7 separate regions of the Homo sapiens genome follow, and all the other regions are linked to region 2. The links are contacts of gene promoters, found by promoter capture Hi-C in blood cells and fetal thymus (Javierre and others, 2016). All regions are on one chromosome and are shown on one strand. Each heading gives the region's core, a stretch centred on a gene start or on the middle of the fragment in contact. The rest is flanking DNA. Distances are from core to core; before and after follow the strand shown.

Region 1 (3,150 bases), core at 92-2,591, 570 kb before region 2:
GAAAACTTCAGGGGCACTATAGTTTTCATTTATTTACATGATATGCTATTTTTAAAGAACCAGTCATTGCCAGAATTCTACGTTAGTTCATCTTCTGAGAATATAATGGGAAAAAAAAGAAAGAAAGAAGTTCATATCTAATGTACATGGAGTTTTCTTCTCCAGTCTGATAATTCACTCAAGTAACATGCCTCAGATTTCACTTCCAGGCCCACCCTTGCTCGTCTCTGCTCAATACCAGAAACTAGAGTTGTGTGTCATCCAAGTTTTTCTAATTTTTTATTTTTTCAGCAGGTATCACTGTGTGCCCACCATGTGCATGAATAAAGTCCCTATTTCTGGGTGGCTACAGCCCAGTTGTGAAGATAACACATAGATGTGAAATATTGAATGAATAATACCACAAGTCAGTATACATTTAAATATGCCAAAGGCAGAAATTGTTGAGGAAATTCACTTCTGAAAACTCTTAACATAGTCTGTAAAGCTTAATATTCGCCAGTTGTTCAATTTCCATTGTTATTTACAAAAATGAAGCTTTGAATTAAGGAAAAAAAAAGCACCATCTGCCTACCCATGCAATAATGCTTGGTTTTATTCCCAAGCATATCAACCACTGGCTTGGCATTTTAACTAACTGAAGTAATTTTCTCGTTAGAGTGTGTCTGTGTCTACAAAATGCATTTTTCCTGGTTACTCATTTTAGTATTTCTGCTCTCTAGCTCTGCCTATGCTGGACTTGAAGCTTTCTGTCTGTAAGTACAGCCACCTTGTTAAATGATTCATACCTTCTAGGTACCTCAAGTGCAGACTATACCTGATGCCCCTTCTTTTCCAGTTACTTATTCAATCAATCCCATCAATCCTTTTATTAATTGATTGTTTAGTCAATATTTATATTGAGTGCCTATTTTCTGTGGGCACAAACGGCACATACCGGCCTTTAAAGATACAGAGAAATGTAGAGCATACCTGCCCTCAACTACATTTCAAAGAAAAAGTGCATATAAAAATATTCTGTCTGGGCTGGATGTGGTGGCTGATGCCTGTAATCCCAGCACTGTGGGAGGCTGAGGTAGGTGAATCACTTGAGCTCAGGAATTAGAGACTAGCCTGGCCAACATGGCAAAACCCTGTCTCTACTAAAAATACAAAAATTAGCCGGGTGTGGTGGCACACACCTATAACCTCAGCCACTCTGATGGCTGAGACATGGAGAATCTCTTGAACCGGGGAAGGGGAGGTTACTATGAGCAGAGATTATGCCACTGCACTCCAGTCTGGGTGACAGAGCGAGACTCTGTCTCAAAAAAAGAAAAAACAATCTGTCTTAAGTAGAATTTTCTAAGTGTCAGAGAGAATGTTACACATTTATTCATTCAGTCCATCAATTTATTTAGCAAACATTTATATTTATTGAGCATTGTGATATGTCAAGCATTCTGACTCACTGGAGATACAAAGATGAATAAATCATATATGGTGCCTGCCTGCCTTATATGAATTTAGAGTAAGTTGATACCATGGTAGGCTAGAACTTTGTTCCTCCACGTTTGTCTGAGAACCAGGAGCATTGGCATCACCTAAGAGCTTCAGAAATAAATAATTTTAGGCTCCATCCAGATATACTGAATCAAAGTCTGCATTTTATTGAAGTGCCCAAGTGATCCAAAGTGAAGTTTGAAAATCACTGGGCTAGAAGGATTATGGAATGCTTTTGTGGAGGAGCTGAAATAAGTAGATATCATCAAGTTTTATTAAAAGAGGAAGGAAGACTTGTTAAAAAGGATTGGATAACATCTGAAATCTAATTTAGGATATGGGGTTTTCAGAGCTGGTTGGGAATGATTATTCAAACAATGATGGGAAATGACCCAATAGTTGGTTGATGATCCACAGGGAGAGGAGTGGTGATAATGTATGATAATATGGCACTCAAAGCTTAGAGAAAGATGAGTGGTCTAGATTCTAGACTCTAGAAGTAGCAATGGGATACTGATGGTGATGCAGTGGCTAAAGGCAAGATTTTCTCATCCCAAGCATGTAGAGGTAAACACTCATATTCTCACAGGTGATATTTAAATTAACTTTTAGGATTTATATTTTTTGAATCCTAAAATTACAGTGAAAGTCAATAAGTAGATACAAATCCAGCTAGTAAAATGTTTTTATATATGCCAGTTTTTTTCAAAATACATTTAATTTATTGGACCTTAAATATGAGAAAAAAAGGAGGTAATCTTAATGGAGAAAGGCTGTTTACATTTTTATCTACAGAGTTATGTCTTCATAATCAAGAGAAGTCCCAGACAAGATTGTGAGAAAATGAAGTTTATCTGTAGTGGCTTTATGTACTTCAATCATCTTTCTGTTATCTTCCTCTCAGTTTTTGTAATCCAACACAAGGAAATGAAGACACCATGTGGTCGGAAGTCAATAAGAGTAATATTGAGGGAATGGTGACCTCCTCAAATGCATTGGTTTTTGTTTTTGCTTGAGACAGAATTTTGCTCTGTCATCCAGGCTGGAGTGCATTGGCGTGATCAAAGCGCACTGCAGCTTCCCATGCTTAAGCTATCCTCCCATATTAACCTCTCAACTAGCTGGGGCTACTGATGCGCACCACCATGCCTGGCTAATTTTTTAAGATTTTTGTAGAGATGAATTCTCACTATGGTTGCCAGGCTGGTCTCAAATTCCTGAGCTTAGGTGATACTCCCACCTTGGCCTCCCAAAATGCTGGGATTACAGGTGTAAGCCACCACACCTGGCAAATGCATCATTTTGAATCACAGGATCTCAACTGGCTTCTGTCCTCCTGTGAAGTCAAGTCCTCCACACAGGGATACTTCCCCTCACAGGTTTGAAAGAATTTAAGGCGCCAGTGCTGTGTAACCTTATGACAATCATAGACAAGGTACCTTTGCTCATTGGGCCCTTAAGACTGCCTCCGCAGATGATTTCATTTCTGAGATGCTTTAAAAGTGACATCCATATCTCCTGTTTTTTTTTTTGACATCTGTTAGTGTGGCTTTAACATATTCAGTGTGCTTTAAACACATGACTTATCTGCACACAAACCTGAGCTGACAGGGAGAAGCCTGCAGCTCTCCAATAAATGACAGACTTAATCAGTGAGACATAGAGCCT
Region 2 (3,003 bases), core at 415-2,914:
TTGGTCATGTTTCGATTTCCTACATTCAACAAGGGAGAGGCAAACAGAAAGAAAAGCAGAAAAACGCTATATTCAAAAGCCAGATACGCCTTCAGCTTCCACTCCCTAAACCTGTACAAATGCTTGCGAAAAGTACCTGCCCATTACAAAATGAATGCCTCTGAGAAAAAGTTAAATGCAGTGTTTTATAATGGCGCGTGCGTGTGCCCCGCTAGTACGTAGGAGTGAGGACAGGACTGGGGGAGGGTAGTGAATATGTATATGTGTACACCACTCACGCATATGTGTTTGTATCCTAGTGATTAACTTAAATGTGTTTATGGTGGTTGCCCGACAGGATAATGTGTGTGGAAATGACTGTACATTTCAGCGACTTCATGTTTATCCAAATGTGTTCAAAGTTACTCACAACTCCATAAAAAAAAAAAAAAGCTGTAAAATCACACATTCTACTTCCATTTCTGTCCTGGCTTCCAGATACTTAGCGATTTAAGTTGAACAGCCATTGCGTAATTTACTAATACTGGCAGCGATTTTTAAGAAGATTACATCGACGGGATACTGAAAAGCAAATGCAGAAAGGAGGAAAAATAGTTTCCACCAAATTGTTTCACCATCAATGTAACATTTGGCAACAAAAGTGGACAGGGTCTTCCACCCCTCCCTCGCCTTTCTTTTCTTGCCTTCCATCTCTGGCCCACCGCTAAATTTCCACCTTGTACAAAAGCGCTAGCTGCAGGGCGAGGGCTGGGGGCGCGGCGCAGAGCGCTCTCCCACGCGCCGGGGATCAGGTGCGGAAGGCTCCTCTCTAATAAACAGCCCATTGAAAGGGCCGCCCGCTCTTTATTGGGGCTTTTCAAAGTTCGCCTCAAACCTCCCTTTAAAAGATTGAGTAATTATAATGGTCAGCGATTGGCAACCGCGAAGTTGCCGCTTCTAGTAAGGAAAATAAAAAGCCTTTAGTAAAACAACTGAATTTCTGGCTCCAGTAGTGGCTGCTGGGGACTTGGCCGCCTCTGGAGCGGTAACAGGTAGCAGGAGTGAGTCCCTCTCCCTTTCTCCACTTTCCCCCCTCTCAACTAAACTATCTCTGAACCTGATTTATTTTCCATGGTGTGAATACTCAAGGTATCCATGTCCCTTTCATTCACTGAAAACACAGCTTGACACTCCCAATGTGCGTAAAATACATGCACACAAAATATATATTGATAACATAGATTTTTTTTTCTTACTGTAAGAAGTGAGAAAGTGAAGTCATTATTGCTTTTGGGACTTTAAAATCAGCACTAGCAGATAATCATAGTTACCGTGCATTCTTTTAAAAAATCCAAGAAGCTCCTATGCTATCCACAAAAGAAACCCAAATTTTTAAAATTTAAATTAGAAAGCCTGCAGGGGGTACTTGAGTGACACGACTCATTATGTGTGAGTACTTATGGGCAATTATGGAGGGGGATGCTGGTCTCAATACACATACACACTCTCGCAAACGCACACATACAGAATATGTAGGTTCATCAGTCTTCAGTTATTGCTTCTATTCTGGGGCAAAAAAATGAAAGAACTGTAATTACCTTTGTTGTTAGTAGGTCCTGAGCAGTGATAGTCTCATAACCCTGGGGCCTCCGGACGCCGCGCCTCCTGCGTGGGCGAATTCCTCGTGTCGTGGCCGCGCGGGCGCTCAGGTTATATAGCCCAGTTAGTGATGCTAAGCGCGGGCGGGGCCGCTAGCTGAGGGGCTAGCAGGTCTATGCGCCTGACGCCTGCGCACGCGTCCAGGCTGTGCGCTCCCCGTTCTCCCCTCCTCCCCACTTCTCCCCACGCCTTGCTCGTCTCCCGCCCTCCTCCGACAACCGCTCCCCTCACCCTCCACCCCTACCCCCGCCCCTCCTCCTTCCTCCCCGGCATGCGCCATATGGTCTTCCCGGTCCAGCCAAGAGCCTGGAACCACGTGACCTGCCCATTTGTATGCCGCGGAGCGCTCCATTCCGGCCCCTTTGTGGCCAGAAGAAAGTGGCCCATCTGTCGCCAGTTAGAGACTCCGCGGACCTGTTTTTACCCGCAGGAGAGATTAACCCTTTCAGGCGGCAGAAGGGACGGGGATAGAGGGGGGAGGGGATTTGAGGGAAGGAAGGGAAAAGCTAATGTTAACTAGGTCTAGATCAGAGCGAGTGGCCTGCTTTCGCGCCGGAAGTAGGACAGAGGTGAAAGAGGCAGAAGCGGGGAGACTGAGGCACGCAGTGAAGAGTCCTCGCTCCTTTCGATTTCTTGTCCTGACACTGGCATCCAGAGCAGCATGACTCCTTGCCCTCTCTGAAAGGCCCATCCCTTGGCTTCTTCTCCTTGGCAGACGCTTTGATCATTGGCGCCAAAGGATGGCTTCTCCTAATCTCCGTCGGCCCCTCTAAGCAAACATATACGCCATATAAAAGCGGCTTCATCTGTAAACGCAGCGTTGAGATTAGTTCCCCAACCTCCCTAACCGGATCGTCCTCTCCCAGTTCCTTCAGTACAGAAAAGTTGTACCTGCCATTCTATCCCTACCATACGTGCAATTCTTCATGTCCTGACCTTCAGCTACGACTGTTCCTCCAGACCCTCTCACTACGTCAGTCCCCACCTCCATCCCCAGGATCTTGTCCTCAAAGCGAGCTAGTTCTCGCGAGGAGGCCTTGGTTCCATTGGCCTTTGCGCTCTCTTATGTGGGAGCTGGGGACTTCTTTGACGGTTGTATTCTGCCTTTTAACCATGGCCACTGGGTTGCTGGAAAGGGCACCCTCACTCAGCCAGTCCAGGGACGCTTCTGGTTCCCTGGCCAGCCCGCCCTGGACGGCCTCGGCTCTCTAGTCCAGGCATTGACCACAAGTACGGTGGTGGACACCTCGCCACAGCCGGACCTGCGCTCTTGCTCCCCTCAGTCTCGGGTCTGTATAAGATACTTGATTCAGACAAGCGTTTTCAAAGAGAAGATGCAATGGGCCTGTGCTGAACGGGTCTTTC
Region 3 (2,857 bases), core at 15-2,514, 650 kb before region 2:
TATTTTGTTTTTTGTCACTATGAACAATCGTACTGTGAAGATTACTGAACATGTGTTCTAGTAATATGTGAGTAAATTCTTTCATTGTATATCTAAGAGTGGAATAGGTGAGTCTCACAGAGAACGTGCATATTCAACCATGCAAGATAATGCCAAATTGGTGATACACTGATACACATTTCCACCAGCAAAGTGCAATAGTTCTCTTTGCGCTGCAGGTTTATCAACTCTGACAATCTTCAGACTTCTTGATTTTTCCTAATCTATGGGTATAAAAATAGTATTTCATCATGGTTTTAATTTGCATTTCCTAATAATGAGGTTGAACAATTTTTTTATGTTTATCTTCCATTCTCATTTCTGTGAAATGCCTTTTTTTTGTTATTTGTCCCCCTGCCCCCAATTTTGTTTTATTAGGGGTTCTTATGTATTGTGGATACAGATGCCTTTTGTACATATATGTTGCAAAAATCTTCTCTCTGTTAATGACTTGGTTCTTTTATGGTATATTAGTGAAAAGAACTGAATTTAAATGGTAGTTAAATTTATCAGTCTCTTATATGATTAGCACTTTTTGTGTCATGGTTAAGAAATTACTTTCTGTCCCAAGGTCTCGAGGATATCTTTATTTTTTTTTCAAAGGCTTGCCCTTAGTGTTCCAAATTTATTTGGAATTGATTCTTTGAAAAGGGTAAGGTAGTAGTCCAATTTCATTTTTCTCCATATGGATAACTATTTGTTTTAGTAACTTTATTGAATAGTCCAGTGGCTAGAGTGCCATCTGTCATTTCATGATTCTTTTTTTGCCTAGTTCTGTGTTGGGCTCTTCCATTCTATTCATCAAGTTGTCTATCTCTGCACAAATAGTACATGATATAGTTTTAATTACTATAATTCTAATGAGTCTTGATATCTAGTAGGACAAGTATCTGTATTTTCATTAGGAGCTGCCTGACGCATTCATATAAAATGAGAATCAGCTTATCAAATTCCTTGGAAAAGTATTCTTGTGGTTTTAATTAGAATTTTATTGAATTTGAGAAATTAGAAGTAGAATTCTTAAAAATGTTGAATTTTCTTTTTCATAAACATACTGTATCACCCTCATTTATTTAGGATTTCTTTAATTCTGATTTTGCTTTGTAATTTTCTGTATTCAAGTATTGTACATCTTTTGCTAAATTTATTTCTAGGAGTTTAATATTTTTGATGCTTTTGTAAGTTTTATCTAAAAACTTGTTTTTTATCTAGCAACCTTGTATAAATGTTCTTTTTAATTCTAATAATTTGCTTATACATTACATTCTTTGATTTTTATCTGTAGACAATCTTTTTTTTTTTTTTTTTTTTAAGTTCTGTTTCTTACTTTACTGTCTAGGACAACCAAGTCATAATTGAGCTTCTTTTCTTGTTCCATGTTTTAAATGGAGCGGTATAAACTTGTCATCTTTAATATTGATGTTTGGCGTGGGTGTTTGAAAAGGTATTCTTTATCAATTAATTCGGTCCCTTTTTTTTTTTTTTTTGAGACGGAGTCTCTCTCTGTCGCCAGGTGGGGGTGCAGTGGTGCAGTCTCGGCTCATTGCAACCTCTGCCTCCAGGGTTCAAGTGATTCCCCTTCCTCAGCCTCCCGAGCTGGGACTACAGGCGCCCGCCACCATGCCTGGCTAATTTTTGTATTTTTAGTAGAGACCAGGTTTCATCATGTTGGCCAGGATTTTCTTGATTCCTTGACCTCATGATCCACCTGCTTCGGCCTCCCAAAGTGCTGCGATTACAGGTGTGAGCCACCACACCTGGCTCCTCTATTTTTCCATGAAAGTATTTTGGTTGTCTTTGGTGGTGGTGGTGGTGGCCTTATGTAAACTCTTCATTGGGCATTAAATTTTAATGAATACTTTATCTACTAAAGTAATAATCATATGGTTTTGCTTTAATCTATTAATATGATAAATTGAATATGTATATTTTTCTTTTGTATTTATTTATTTATTTATTTTTTGAGACGGAGTCTTGCTCTGTCGCCCAGGCTGGAGTGCAGTGGCACGATCTCATCTCAGAATGTGTATATTTTTCTAATGTCAGACTAACTTTGCATTTCCAATTTGGCAATATATATTATCTTTTTTCAATATGAACAGTCTTGGATATGATTTGTTACTAAGAGTCTTACATGTGTGTTCATGATTTGAGATTGGCTTCTTTTTTTCTTACACCTAATTAGCCTGTTTTTAATACTGGCCTCAGAGAAAAAAAATTATTTTTTTATTTTTTATTTTTGATTCTCAGAAGCGTTTTAAGAGTGGAATGATCTCACTTGAAATTTGATAGAAGTCTCCTGTAAAACTATGTGGACCTGGTGGTTTTGTATTTGGGATAAGGTGGGGAAAAGGTGGAAATTAACTACAAGTCCCATCTCTATATTGTATAACCAGTATTCACTTAGTCTGTTCTTTTTAGTAGGTTGAATTTTTCTAGGAATTAGAGCATTTATTTTTTTCATGTCTGTTATTTCTGTCTTCTCTCTGTCTTGTCACAAGGTTTCTATGTTTTATTAGTCTTGACCCAAAAATTTAAAAAAAATTTTAGTTTTTATTGACACTATTTTGTGTTTGTGTTGTGTTTCACTAGTTTATACTATTACGTTTGTTACCTTTTCTATTTACTTGAGCTAATTTTGCTGTTCTTTTTGTAATTTTTTAGATTGGGTTCTTAATTTTTAGCTTTTCTTCTGTAATACAAACATTAAAGCTGTACATTTACCTCTAAGTACTGATTTTTGTGGCCTCTCATACTATTTTTTTAAAAAATTTGTTAAAAATTGCTTTTGGACCTAATGTATTGTTAGATTTTATAC
Region 4 (3,114 bases), core at 594-3,093, 590 kb before region 2:
ACACTAGTTCAACATGTTGCTTCAGATAGGATAAGCTGCCATAGAATACAGATTGGTTCAGGTCCTAAACAATATTGGGGGAAACTCATCATTACTTCCATTTCCCATCATAGAGAACATAGAGTCTATGTTGTACAAGATCCAAAGCAGTGTTTCTTAAAGTGTGGTCCAAGAACACATCATTTTAGTTGATAGTTAGTATCCAGGCACCTGGGCTCTGCTCCAAATCTCTAAAAGAAATTATTGCAAAGTGGCCCAGGAATGTGCATTTTACTAAATGTCCAATATCATCTTTATGCATACAAATGGTTGAAACAACTGGTCAAGATGTGGACAGGTTGAAACAACTGGTCAAGATGTGGATTGTGGCCATGTGGCCATATAGTGCTTTTCAACAGCAGAGTTATTTCTCCCAGAGTAATAGACAAGAACAGGTCCATAGAAATAGTTTCTCTACAGCCATCTGTTGTTCATTTTTCTTCTCCACATCCTGAGATGGGGCACACAAAAAAGAAAGTCATCATTTTTATTCGGTAACAACCACTGCATTTTATTTGGTAACAGCCACTATAGCATACCTGCTATAGTGACAGCCTCCTAAAAGGATGCCTCTTGCTGGTTAAACATTTATGTGCTTTGTGTGAGAGGGGCATTTCATATGCCATAAAACACTGGTGTTCCATTTTCATAGCTTTATTCTTTTTTTAAATTTCTGTACTTGTAATTTTCAGTGATTTTTAATGGAGTTAGCCAAAAAAATAATGTTTCTCCCAAGTAGTGCACTATTATAGTGCTGTTTAGTGGTACTCCAATACAATACTCAACCAATGAAATAAAGCAAAAATATGTCCCATACAGAGCACAGCACGCCATGGTCACTCTGATTTCTTAAGTGATGTGAAACAAAAAGTAACCAAGAAAAAGAAGACAAAGTGTTTGTGGAGACAGCTTTATGGCTCCAAAATTACATTTTTACATTTATAGAAACAGCAACAGAATAATTTGATTCATTCCCTGTGTGTAAAGGGATGCAATGTTGATTGAAAACCGTCAGTCAAAAGTACGTTGTGCCTAGGAAACTATACATAGTGCTAATCGGGAGTCTTTGTAAAGAGATAATTCACTGAGCATTTGATAAATAAGCACAATGGGTATGCTCTACACACTAGTAGAGCCTGAGTCTTATCTGCCCCAAATTAAATGTTTTGTAGCCCATGCTTATGGTGAAGATCCATTTTCAAGCATTAGCCAAAGCATTGTGCCACAAAATTATTAAAAACTCAAAGAAATGAAAATTAACCAGATTTTATTATTATATATAATTCTGCATAAAACAGCCAAAAAGTGGAAAAGCTTAGGCAACTTCCTTGTCATTTTTCTCTATAACATTAAGCAATGAAACTCAATGACGTTTTCAGTTACTTTTAGTAAATTTACAAGCGCCTTCCCTAAAATGTATACATGTGAAAAGATAGGGATAAGAAATCAAATTAGTGATATATATATACTAAAGACATTAGGGTGGCCAGGAGGTAGCTCTAAGCTGGAATAATCAAGAAGGCTTCCTGGAAGAAGGGGCCATTGAGCTGAACCTTTATAGGAATTGGGGAACAGAAGATGGGAGAAGATGGTAGTAATAACATGATATGAAAAAGTGCATTTGGTAGATTATGTGCTTAAATATAGTTGTAGGAAAATATGTGTGTTGAGAAGGAGTAAGAAATCAGATTGGATATCCTGGGAAAGATGTCAGAATAGGAACAGCTCTGGTCTGCAGCTCCCAGTGAGACCAATGCAGAAGGCGGATGATTTCTGCATTTCCAACTGAGGTACCAGGTTCATCTCATTGGGACTGGTTAGACAGTGGGTGCAGCCCACAGAGGGCAAGCAGAAGCAGGGTGGGGCGTCACCTCACCCAGGAAGCACAAGGGATCGGGAACTCCCTCCCCTAACCAAGGGAAGCCATGAGGGACTGTGTGTGAGGAACAGTGCATTCTGGCCCAGATACTATGCTTTTCCCACATCTTCACAACACACAGACCAGGAGATTCCATCAGGTGCTTTCATCACCAGGGCCCTGGGTTTCAAGCACAAAACTGGGTGGCTGTTTGGGCAGACACCAAGCTAGCTGCAGGAATTTTTTTTTCATATCCCAGTGGCATCTGGAATGCCAGCAAGAGAGAACTGTTCACTCCCTTGGAAAGGGGGCTGAAGCCAGGGAGCCAAGTGGTCTTGCTCAGTGGATCCCACTCCCACGGAGGCCAGCAGGCTAAGATCCACTGGCTTAAAATTCTCACTGGCAGCACAGCAGTCTGAAGTAGACCTGGGACGTTCAAGCTTGGTGGAGGGAGGGACATCTGCCATTAGTGAGGCTTGAGTAGGTGGTTTTCCCCTCACAGTGTAAACAAAGCTCCCTGGAAGTTTGGACTTGGAGCCCACCACAATGCCACAAAGCCACTGTAGCCAGGCTGCCTCTCTAGATTCCTCCTCTCTGGGCAGGGCATCTCTGAAAGAAAGGCAGCAGCCCCAGTCAGGGGCTTATAGATAAAATTCCCATTTCCCTGGGACAGAGCACCTGGGGGAACGGGCGGCTGTGGGCACAGCTTCAGGAGACTTAAACATTCCTGCCTGCTGACTCTGAAGAGAGCAGCGGATCTCCCAGTACAGTGCTCTAGCTGTGGTAAGGGACAGACTGCCTCCTCAAGTGGGTCCCTGACCCCCGTGCCTCCTGACTGGGAGACATCTCCCAGCAGGGATCAACAGACACCTCATACAGGAGAGCTCTGGCTGGCATCTGCTGGGTGCCCCTCTGGGACGAAGCTTCCAGAGGAAGGAGCAGGCAGCAATCTTTGCTGTTCTGCAGCCTCTGCTGGTGATACCCAGGCAAACAGGGTCTGGAGTGGACCCCCAGCAAACTCCAGCAGACCTGCAGAAGAGGGGCCTGACTGTTAGAAGGAAAACTAACAAACAGAAAGCAATAGCATCAACATCAACAAAAAGGACGACAACACAAAAACTTCATCTGAAGGTCACCAACAGCAAAGACCAAAGGTAAATAAATCCAAGAAGATGAGGAAAAACCAGCGCAAAAAGGCTGAAAATTTCAAAAACCGG
Region 5 (3,077 bases), core at 411-2,910, 550 kb before region 2:
GTGAAAAGAAGTCGGGAGTGATGGACTAATGCGATGTAGCAATTCTAACTTTCTCACATGCATGCTTAAAAATCATGAAACAGCAACAAATTGTAGCAGTTTGTAATTGTTTGCTATTGTGTTAAATGCTGGACAGTGACAATCACTTGTTTAGGATAGAAGTCTTTTGATTATGTGAACCTGAACCAGCAGAACTCAAAGGAAACATGAAAATAAAGAAGTACAAATACTCCTTTTGCATAAAGAGCAGTCCACCAGACTCATGATGAGCTTTCTCCTTTTGTTCCTTTAAGTTAACTCTTCTGCAAAATGTTTTTTGTTTGTGTATGTTTTGCAGTGTCCTTTTCAAAATTAATGAGCTAGACTTCTTGAATCATAAAACTATTCTGAAAGCCCACATTATTAGAACCATGGGGGAAGTTTGCATCTGTTGATTAGCTGAGAAGCTTGCTTTCACTATTAATATGCAACAGTAATTTCAGTTATGTTCTGATAAAAGTAAGTATAGATATTAGACAGCAACTCAAAAACTTTTGACAAGACAGGTTTCTACAGAGAGGAATCTCTAGTACTCCAGGGTTTTGCTTAGTAGTAAAGTTTAACATCTTTACCCTTTTTAAACTCTTGAAACCTAAAACTCAACTAGATAATGTACTTCAATCTTATTAGTCATAAAAAATGTACTAACTACAATGGCCTTTCCTCATGGACATCTAAGGTTACCCCACAAGAAACTTCAGAGTAATTGAAATCAAGGTCTTAGCAGGCTCTTCTCTGTATTTTAAATGTGTCCGCCAAGCAGTATGCTCAGGGGCTTGTTAATGGACAGTTGTTGGCTTGTTAATGGACAGTTGTTTAAGATCATGTATACATATGTAACAAACCTGCACGTTGTGCACATGTACCCTAAAACTTAAAGTATAATAATAATAAAAAAGAAAATATGGCACATATACACCATGGAATACTATGCAGCCATAAAAATGGATGAGTTCATGTCCTTTGTAGGGACATGGATGAAGCTGGAAACCATCATTCTCAGCAAACTATCACAAGGACAGAAAACCAAACACCACATGTTCTCACTCATAAGTGGGAGTTGAACAATGAGAAAACATGGACACAGGATGAGGAACATCACACACTGGAGCCTGTTGGGGGGTGGGGGGCTGGGAGAGGGATAGCGTTAGGAGAAATACCTAATGTAAATGATGAGTTGATGGGTGCAGCAAACCAACATGGCACATGTATACCTATGTAACAAACCTGCACATGTACCCTAGAACTTAAAGTATAATAATAAAAATAAAAAAATTTAAAAAGATAATGTTCTTTATAAATGTCATTGACCTACCTACCCTATACTTGTAGTCTCTCCACTAAGATTTATAATTTTCTGTTCTCATGTTAAAACAGAATGCATATAATTTATTTCTAGTAAAGCTCCATCAAATAATACAAAATACAATGTCTTTATTTCTTAAATGTACATATGTACTGACTGAGAGTGGCAGGAGGCAGCCAAATGCCTAGGCAGATAGGGCTGTGTTTTTGGTTAAACCCCACCTCCAAGTCAAAGACAGTTTAAAGCCTGATAGCCAAGCTACAAATTAAATCCTTGGACCAGGTTGAGAACACCTCTTCCTGTTTGGCACATTCCTCTGATTCATCCCCCCAATCACCTATTTTACATATACCTACCCTTTCCTAATTGGTTTTCTACACTGTCCTGCCCACCTTTGAGTGGTATTTTCACTTTAACCTTTTTTGCATACTCACAAACCAATTAGTATGCATTCCCCATTCTCAACCCATAAAAGGCCTTGGACCAAGTCACACAAGGAAATTTCCTGCCTTTGGGTAGGAGGGCCACCCCCACATCCCCTCTCCACTGAAAGCTGTTTCATTGCTCAATAAAATTCTTCTCTGTCCTCCTCACTCTTCGGTGTCCAGCATATCCTCATTTTCCTGGGTGCAGTACAAGAGCTGGGGAACCACCGAATGTGGGTACAAACTATAACACAAGTGAGCTGGGACACACCAGCATGGCCTAGTGGGATCTGGGCAGGGTGTCGCCAGCCAGAGGTCCCGGCTTGCAAAGTGACTAAGAAGAAAAATCCTACATCATAATGTTATCTGTTACTGTATAAATAAGAAGAAATGCTGAGAGAGGAATAGTTATAAAAATAATTTTTATTTAGAGAGCTTGATAAATGTTTTCACAGGATTCAGATGTAAAAATGATCACAGAACTCAAGAAAAGCAGGCATGCTATGGAAAACATAATGAACAGTATACTAATGTTTTCATACATGAATATGGAAATCTTTAAAATAAGCATATTTTAAATTTTATAATTTAAAATTTATTATGTGTAGCAAAATTTCTAATATTTCATTTTATGATCCACACATTAGTTATCTCATATAAAAAATTAACTTGAATATTTTTAAATTTATATATTATCTATTAACCCCATTCTCTTTTGTATTCTTTCTCTCTGTCCTTATCTCTGTCTCTTTCTCCATAAGCACACACATAGTTTTTTAAATCAAATGCAAACATGTAATATATTGATAGAAATGTAAAAATTGAGGTTTATATGAAATTTCAGATTATGACAGATATAAGCACTAAAATTTTGTTTAGAAAATGCAAAGAAAATATTTCTCAGAAATAAAAACAATGATTACTTGGTGCAGGCTAATTTTAGTGACTATATATAATAACCAATAGATGCAAATTTTACATGCTTTATTGATCATAAACTGCGATTTAGATGAAAAAATTGTTCAGTGAATAATTATATTAAAAATTTAGATAAATTTGTTATTGTTGCTTTGTGAAAATAAGACATGTTCTTCCATTAGGAATAAAGCTTTTCCAAAACCTCTGGGTTCCTTAACCACTAAGATGGACCTCATTATAGGAATATCTCGGACCTTGTCCAAGAGATTTCATAACTCAGCGTCAGCACTTTAAGTCTGTTTCATCTACAACAGTGAAGCATCACAAATACTACAAACAGAGCTTCTCTAAGTTTCAGCATAGTGCAGTATGCTCTGGTTGCAAATTTC
Region 6 (3,117 bases), core at 601-3,100, 610 kb before region 2:
AGTATAATTTCAACAACTTCTATTTTGTCTCACACCATGAGTATTTCTTAAGTTAGCTTAGCAAACTCAGATATGTTGGCTGCTCCCACCTTAGTCCAAGAGAAGGAAAAGGTAAATCTGTGAAGGAATGGGTTGCCGAGAGGTGTGTGGTACTAAGTCCTGACAGCTAGGGGCCCAGGTCTGTAAGGAAAGTCAGGGATTCTCTAGTGATTGAGATTGGGGTAGTTAGGTCTTCATATGAGCATTTCAAGTTTTCATCTACAAAGTGATGAAGAAGAGTATTAATTTATGAGATAAAGAGTATGAGGGGATAACACTGTAGGGCTTTCACTGGCACCCCTTACCTGATTCCTTTATCATCGTTTGAAGAGCACTTTTTAGCCCTCTGCTAAACTCTTGCTGTGGTCACAGAACTCTCAAATGGTGAAGATCATTTTAAATATGCATGAGACACCATGTTTTTTCTTCCATGGTTATTTTTTTTTAAGGACATATATAATGTTTTACTTGTGTATGTATATCATCTCAATTATGAGCCCCTAGAAATAAGGGATCCAATTTATTTCATTCAGTAAGTTATTAGTTGTGTACACTGGAATATTGGTTTGGGTGCTTAGGATTAGCAGTGAATAAAATACACGAAAATTCCTACCCTTATGGAGTTTACTTTCAATTGCTAGGAGACAGACCAAAAAAATTTAAAAGTGTATATATATATGTGTGTGTGTGTGTGTGCGTACGCACACATTCTCACACACATATATGTATGTTAGATGGTAAGTGTTATGGAGAAAAACAAAGTAGGGAAGGGAAATAGTGTGTGCAGTGAGGGAGAAAGAAAGGGGAGGTTGAATTACAGTTATAACAAGGGTAGTCGGGGAAGACCTCACCTAAAAAATGAGTCAAGAGCTGAAGATGGTGAGGAATAAGCCACATAGGAAAAGAGTCCTACAGGCGGAGGGAATACCAACTGAAAAAATCTTGTAACAAGAGCATGCCCAATGCATTCAAAAGGTAGCAAGTGCTTAGGAGGGCTGGAGCAGGTGAGCAACTAGGAGAGGAATAGGAGGCCAGGTCAAGAAGATGACAGGTGGGCAGATCACATAGGGTCTTGTATTTCATTTTAAGGAGTTTGGCTAGTATTCTAAATAAGATGGGACACCACTGGAAGCTGTTTTTAGCCAACGAGCAACAGGACATGATTTATTAGAATCTGATCAGTCAGAGAAAAACTTGCTGTGGGGCTAAGGAATTGGGAGCAGGGGGACCAGTTAGGAGGCTAATGCAGTAATCCAGGTGAGAGATACCAGTGACTTCAACCTGGGTGGTGGCAGTGTAAGTAGTAAGAAAAGGTCAGGTTCTGGTTAAAAATAGAGCTAAGAAGATTTGCTGATAGATTGAATATGTGGTGTGAAAAAGGAGTTAGAGTTTAGGGCCTGAGCAAACTAGTAGGCTGTAGTTGTCATTAACCAAGGTGAAAAACTCGAGGGTGAAGCAGGATAGGGAGAAAGATTATGAGCTTAGTTTTTGACAGGTTAAGTTTGAAATGCCTATTAAACATCCAAATGGAAGTGCAAGATTGGATATACAAATTTGGAATTCAAGAGTTCTGGGCCAGGGATGTATATTTGTGACACGTGAGTGTGTAGTTGGTATTTATAGCTGTGAGACCTATGATCACTCACTCAAGGGAATGAGTGCTGCTAGAGAAGAAAGAAGCTTAGGCACTCCCAGCATTAGGAGGCTGAGGAGAGATGAGTCAGCAAAGTAATCCAGGAAGGAACGCTCAAGAAGTGAAAGGAAAATCAGGAGAGTGTGATAACCTGAAAGGGAAGTAAAAAGTTTCAAGGAGGTGGGAATGATCTACCCCATGAGAGACTACTGATAAGCCAAATAAAATAAGGACCTAAATAGCCATTAGCAACTCAGGAGTCCTAGACACTGGTGACTTTTATATGCAATTTTGTTGGAGCAATGAAATTAAAGCTTGATTGAATAAAGTAACAAGGAATAGAGAACTTGGAGACTCCTGACAATTTTGCAGTGAAATAGAGAAGTAGGGAGTAGTTGGAGTTTCTTTAAGATGGGAGAAATTACAGCATGTTTGTATATTGATAGGAAAGATTAGAGAGGAGGAAGTGGATGGTGTAGGGGAGGAGGAGCAGTGTCCTTGAAAAAGTTATCTGCTACATAATTTATTCAGGGTGTTTTCAAAGTTCTGCACTACCTTGGACATCTGTCTTTCTCCCTGACTAGAGCAGAAGCTCTTTGGGAAGTGCAGCATCCAGCACTTACAGCAGCATTGTCATTCACCAAATTCTTGAGTTCCCCTAGATAAGCAAGAGGGGATAGGATCTAGTACAAGTGAGGTGTTTGGCCCTTGTTGTGAATTTGCAGAGGACATGGGCATAGGTGAGATTGGAGGGTAGATGTGGTTCGTAGGAAGTTCTTTGGTAGCTTCTACTCCTCCATGAAACGAGATGTTATTGGCTGAAAGTGAGAATGGGGAGACGACAGTTCATACATCTGTGTGACCCATTAATGTCCAGCAGAGTAACTAGTCGTTTGTGGTCAAGTGTAAAAATGAATGATTGAGTTGTCTATCTGGATGAGCCTTTCGTTTATTTCATAGTTAACATGTTAATGAACATGCAATTAAAACATCCATATCAGCTCGAATGGCTCCTCTTTTTCATCAGGTATGGTTTAGCAGTTGTTTGAATCTTTAGCACCTTAATTTTTGTTTCATTCAAGTGATTTTCCTGAAGTCATTGAAGAATCTACCTTGACACCAATTTTAACTAGAGAAATTCAATTATTTGCTGAAAGTTAATACTGCTTTAAATGCTGGACACAAAAATAGTTACGCTGTGTTTCCCAAAGAGGTCATCATGGTCTAGTCAGGAAGAGGGGTGTCCAAGGTGAGTTACACAGAGCTTTGGAAAAGCCTCAGTGGATGGTGTGGCAGATGACGTCCCTGAGTTTGCTAGAGGAAAAATGACTCTAGAAAACTGAGTATTCTTCCCTGTTCTATTTTATGGATGTGGTGGTCAGAGAAGGACATAGTGACCAATTTCTGTGACCCTCACTTCCACCATTGGTCCCGTGGCAAGACTC
Region 7 (2,992 bases), core at 333-2,832, 630 kb before region 2:
AGACCATTTTCCACAGAGCAGCCTGAGGAGGCCTTGCAAAATGTCCATATTAGTTTAACACTCCCCCTTTGTTGCTTAAAATCTTTTGATAGCTGCCTATTTCTTTTAATATAAAGACAAGTCTCCTTCATGTAGTCTTACAAGGTCCTGCCTAGACGTTTGTTACAGCTTCCCTCATTAGGTCGTTTCATTGTACTTCCCATGTTCTCTTCCCTTCTGCCACATTGTGCTTCCAGGCCCTGCTACTTGTTCCTGATGGCCTCAGGGCATTTTCCTATGCTTTGAAGTCCTCTTTCCCAGCCCTTTCCTTTCAGCTTCTACTGATAAACCCCCACTGGGGTATTTGAAATAATCTTTTAAATATTGCTTCCTCTGACTCTTCCCTTATCTCTCTAACATTTCCCCGGCATTCAACAAGGAATACCTTGCCTTTGTAGCGTTTTCTGTTTTATGTTTTTTTGTGAGTTTATTTGATTAAGATCTATATCCTCAGCTTGGCTGAAATCTCCATTGTATATTTAGTTTCTTGTACAGATTCCTAGCCCCAAATCGTAGACACTCAATAACTCCTTAATGAATGAATGAATTTGTTTTCTTTATTGAATCTAACAAGTACTGTATTTTGTATATTGTTAAAGCTTAAATACTTTTTTTGATTCAAAGTAAATTCATAGGTTCACAAGGCACAGTATGGATTAATAAGCAATACCATTTCCTGGTTGGTTGTTATAGAGATTACATAAGAATTCACACATTTACCAAAACGAGGTCATTCTTGGGAAGAGGAGTAGGAAGATAAAATCATGGGAACCACTAGCACATACCTAGGTCTGCCCTTTTAGTTAGTAGAATTATTTTTCTACGTTATTTCCCCAGCCACTCCTCTCACCCTAATTGTCTGTATTATAGCTTTCCCTAATTGTGAACTCCTAATTGCTTTCAACCTAAATAAATATGATTCTTTCTAAAACACTCAGGAATAACAACTGTTCACTTATAAACAGTTTTTGAAGTTTGGAAAGCAATATAGAGGTTTGGCTTTACTTTAGAAAAATATTACAGAAGCTACCTGTGTTCTCCGCCTACTTCACACATGCCCATTTAGCATTTGATGTACTTCATATAATTAAATTTGTTCTGCATCCTAAGGATTTTCCTGAGCCCCAGCCGCCTTGATAAGGTTGTTAAAATGAACAACTCATTGCTAAGATTACCTTTTCTCCCTCTCTTGGGCAGTAGAACTCAGCTGAGAGAATAGCGGCAACTAGGAGAAGAAAGGGTGATGGGTTGAGATTTCTGGAGATTTCAGCTGAGGGAGTAAAGAAGCTTCAGAGGATAAAGATATTCTTTATGTCACCATTAGCAGAGAAGTCAAGGATCTGCTGGACAGAGCAGCTTTTTGAGTGTAGGTATTTTAGCTAAGTTGGATATTATACACCACAATGAATGTGAATATAAAAAACAAGGGATTTAAGTGTGAAATTGTGACCACAGTATTGGCTAAAGACAATATACTTATAGATGTTGATATTTAATTTCACCACACCCACAGTTTATCCTGGCATCCCAGTGCCTGGTCCATAGTAGTTATTCACAATGTTGTTTAACTGACTGGACTTGGATGTGTGTTTGTGTGTGTTTTTTAAATTATTTCACCTTGTGTATGGTTGTACTTGTAGAAATGTTTTCATCTACATTTATATAAGTGTACAGTACTTTGCAATAAAAATACCTGTACCAGAATTCTTCTCTTACAAAGTGTTTCTTATGATTATACACAATAGACTTGACTGCGTTTGGATGATGACTGTCATAATAGGCCTTAAGATAGACAAAGCACAAGCTTTATAGTAATAGTTTTGAAGAAAGACTATATGGTAATTACTAGATCAAGAAAGCATTATTGCATTATCTGTGCAGATAGAAGCCTTTAGGCAGATGCCATAGTTTTTTTACTTCATCAGTCTTTTTATATGTACACCTGACTGCCAGAAATAGTTATTAATTCTTCAATGAAGATGGTTTTGCAGACTGAATTTATGTGTATGTATATAGCACGCACACCCAGCCATTTTATTTTTATGTTCAATCTAATTCCTTTAAACAAAAGACTATGAAATACTACTACTTTTCTGTAGGCCATGTGATAAGGTTGTTAGGGCTGGACAGAAAGAAAAAATATATTTATTTGCCATACCCTGAATATATGAAATGAAGACTAGATTTCAAAAATCTTACTTTCAGGCATCACAGTAATTTACAAAAAGGCCAATAAGTTACACAAGCATTTGTAGTAATTTATGTAAAAGATGTGAAGCTGGTAAGGGATGGTTCAAAAACTTACATATCAGAATCTGCTTAATACAAATTTTAGGAAAAGAATCCACTTCTTTACAAGGCAATACTCTGATCACTATTTCCTGAACAGTTATTGAAGGTGTTTCAAGCAAGAGTTACATACTAGTATAGATTTTTAATGCAAATGGCCATATTTGTTTTGAAGGTGATACCTTGTGGGTTTTCTTCAACTCTTTCAAAACTTGAATTTTATATCATTTTGTTTTTCCTCCCATCCCCACATCCTAAGTGCTAAAAGACTCTAAAACTCATCTTGTCACCTGCTGTTTTGTTCAACGGGATTCTCTTCAGAAATATAATCCTAAAGTTTGGGAGGGACTCTTAGAGTAGACACTTAAGCAGAGATGGAACAAAGAATTAATAATCCAAATTATATGAAGCATTTAAAAGTCTGTAGAGTAGAAGCCATTACAGAATCACCTTTAGTACGTGATTAGATACCTTTATTTCTGAATCTGTTTACATTTTATTTTTGGCAGGAGCTGGGTAATTAAAAATATTTGTATGGATTTATTGCTTTCAAATTTGTGGTGAAGACATTTTAGAAGAGAATCTTAGCTCTGCATATACGACCCTAGGCAAGTCACTTAACCTTTCTGGCTCGGTTTCTCATCTGTGAAATTGTGATAAAAAT

What was found. Contacts are between HindIII fragments. The CHiCAGO score rates a contact against its expected background, and 5 or more counts as called.
Region 1: a contact is called between a fragment that was not itself captured here and the fragment with the promoter of NEUROD1 in region 2, in 3 of 17 cell types (M1 macrophages, total B cells and M2 macrophages). The highest score is 5.7, in M1 macrophages.
Region 3: a fragment that was not itself captured here is called in contact with the fragment with the promoter of NEUROD1 in region 2 in 1 of 17 cell types (non-activated CD4 T cells); the score reaches 5.0 in non-activated CD4 T cells.
Region 4: a fragment that was not itself captured here is called in contact with the fragment with the promoter of NEUROD1 in region 2 in 8 of 17 cell types (non-activated CD4 T cells, naive CD4 T cells, total B cells and 5 more); the score reaches 8.1 in non-activated CD4 T cells.
Region 5: a fragment that was not itself captured here is called in contact with the fragment with the promoter of NEUROD1 in region 2 in 2 of 17 cell types (M2 macrophages and neutrophils); the score reaches 6.6 in M2 macrophages.
Region 6: a fragment that was not itself captured here is called in contact with the fragment with the promoter of NEUROD1 in region 2 in 14 of 17 cell types (non-activated CD4 T cells, total CD8 T cells, fetal thymus and 11 more); the score reaches 9.2 in non-activated CD4 T cells.
Region 7: a fragment that was not itself captured here is called in contact with the fragment with the promoter of NEUROD1 in region 2 in 1 of 17 cell types (total CD4 T cells); the score reaches 5.4 in total CD4 T cells.

The regions. Positions count from the first base shown.
Region 1 is chr2:181,108,175-181,111,324 of GRCh38, forward strand. No RefSeq gene overlaps it. Among named protein-coding and RNA genes, the nearest start is that of LINC01934, 14 kb to the right of the region's middle. The HindIII fragment of the contact is 1,196 bases long and covers 744-1,939 here.
Region 2 is chr2:181,678,853-181,681,855 of GRCh38, forward strand. NEUROD1 (neuronal differentiation 1) reads right to left here and starts at 1,665. Exons shown (of 2, transcript NM_002500.5): 1 at 1,578-1,665; 2 at 1-19. The coding sequence starts at 8. RefSeq lists an enhancer at 2,315-2,891. The HindIII fragment of the contact is 9,386 bases long and covers 1-3,003 here.
Region 3 is chr2:181,028,330-181,031,186 of GRCh38, forward strand. All of the region lies in intron 3 of UBE2E3 (ubiquitin conjugating enzyme E2 E3), which reads left to right. Among named protein-coding and RNA genes, the nearest start is that of UBE2E3-DT, 49 kb to the left of the region's middle. The HindIII fragment of the contact is 3,673 bases long and covers 1-2,857 here.
Region 4 is chr2:181,087,187-181,090,300 of GRCh38, forward strand. No RefSeq gene overlaps it. Among named protein-coding and RNA genes, the nearest start is that of LINC01934, 35 kb to the right of the region's middle. The HindIII fragment of the contact is 984 bases long and covers 1,352-2,335 here.
Region 5 is chr2:181,127,917-181,130,993 of GRCh38, forward strand. All of the region lies in intron 1 of LINC01934 (long intergenic non-protein coding RNA 1934), which reads left to right. Among named protein-coding and RNA genes, the nearest start is that of LINC01934, 5.6 kb to the left of the region's middle. The HindIII fragment of the contact is 2,432 bases long and covers 445-2,876 here.
Region 6 is chr2:181,068,543-181,071,659 of GRCh38, forward strand. No RefSeq gene overlaps it. Among named protein-coding and RNA genes, the nearest start is that of LINC01934, 54 kb to the right of the region's middle. The HindIII fragment of the contact is 267 bases long and covers 1,718-1,984 here.
Region 7 is chr2:181,047,769-181,050,760 of GRCh38, forward strand. All of the region lies in intron 3 of UBE2E3 (ubiquitin conjugating enzyme E2 E3), which reads left to right. Among named protein-coding and RNA genes, the nearest start is that of UBE2E3-DT, 68 kb to the left of the region's middle. The HindIII fragment of the contact is 517 bases long and covers 1,325-1,841 here.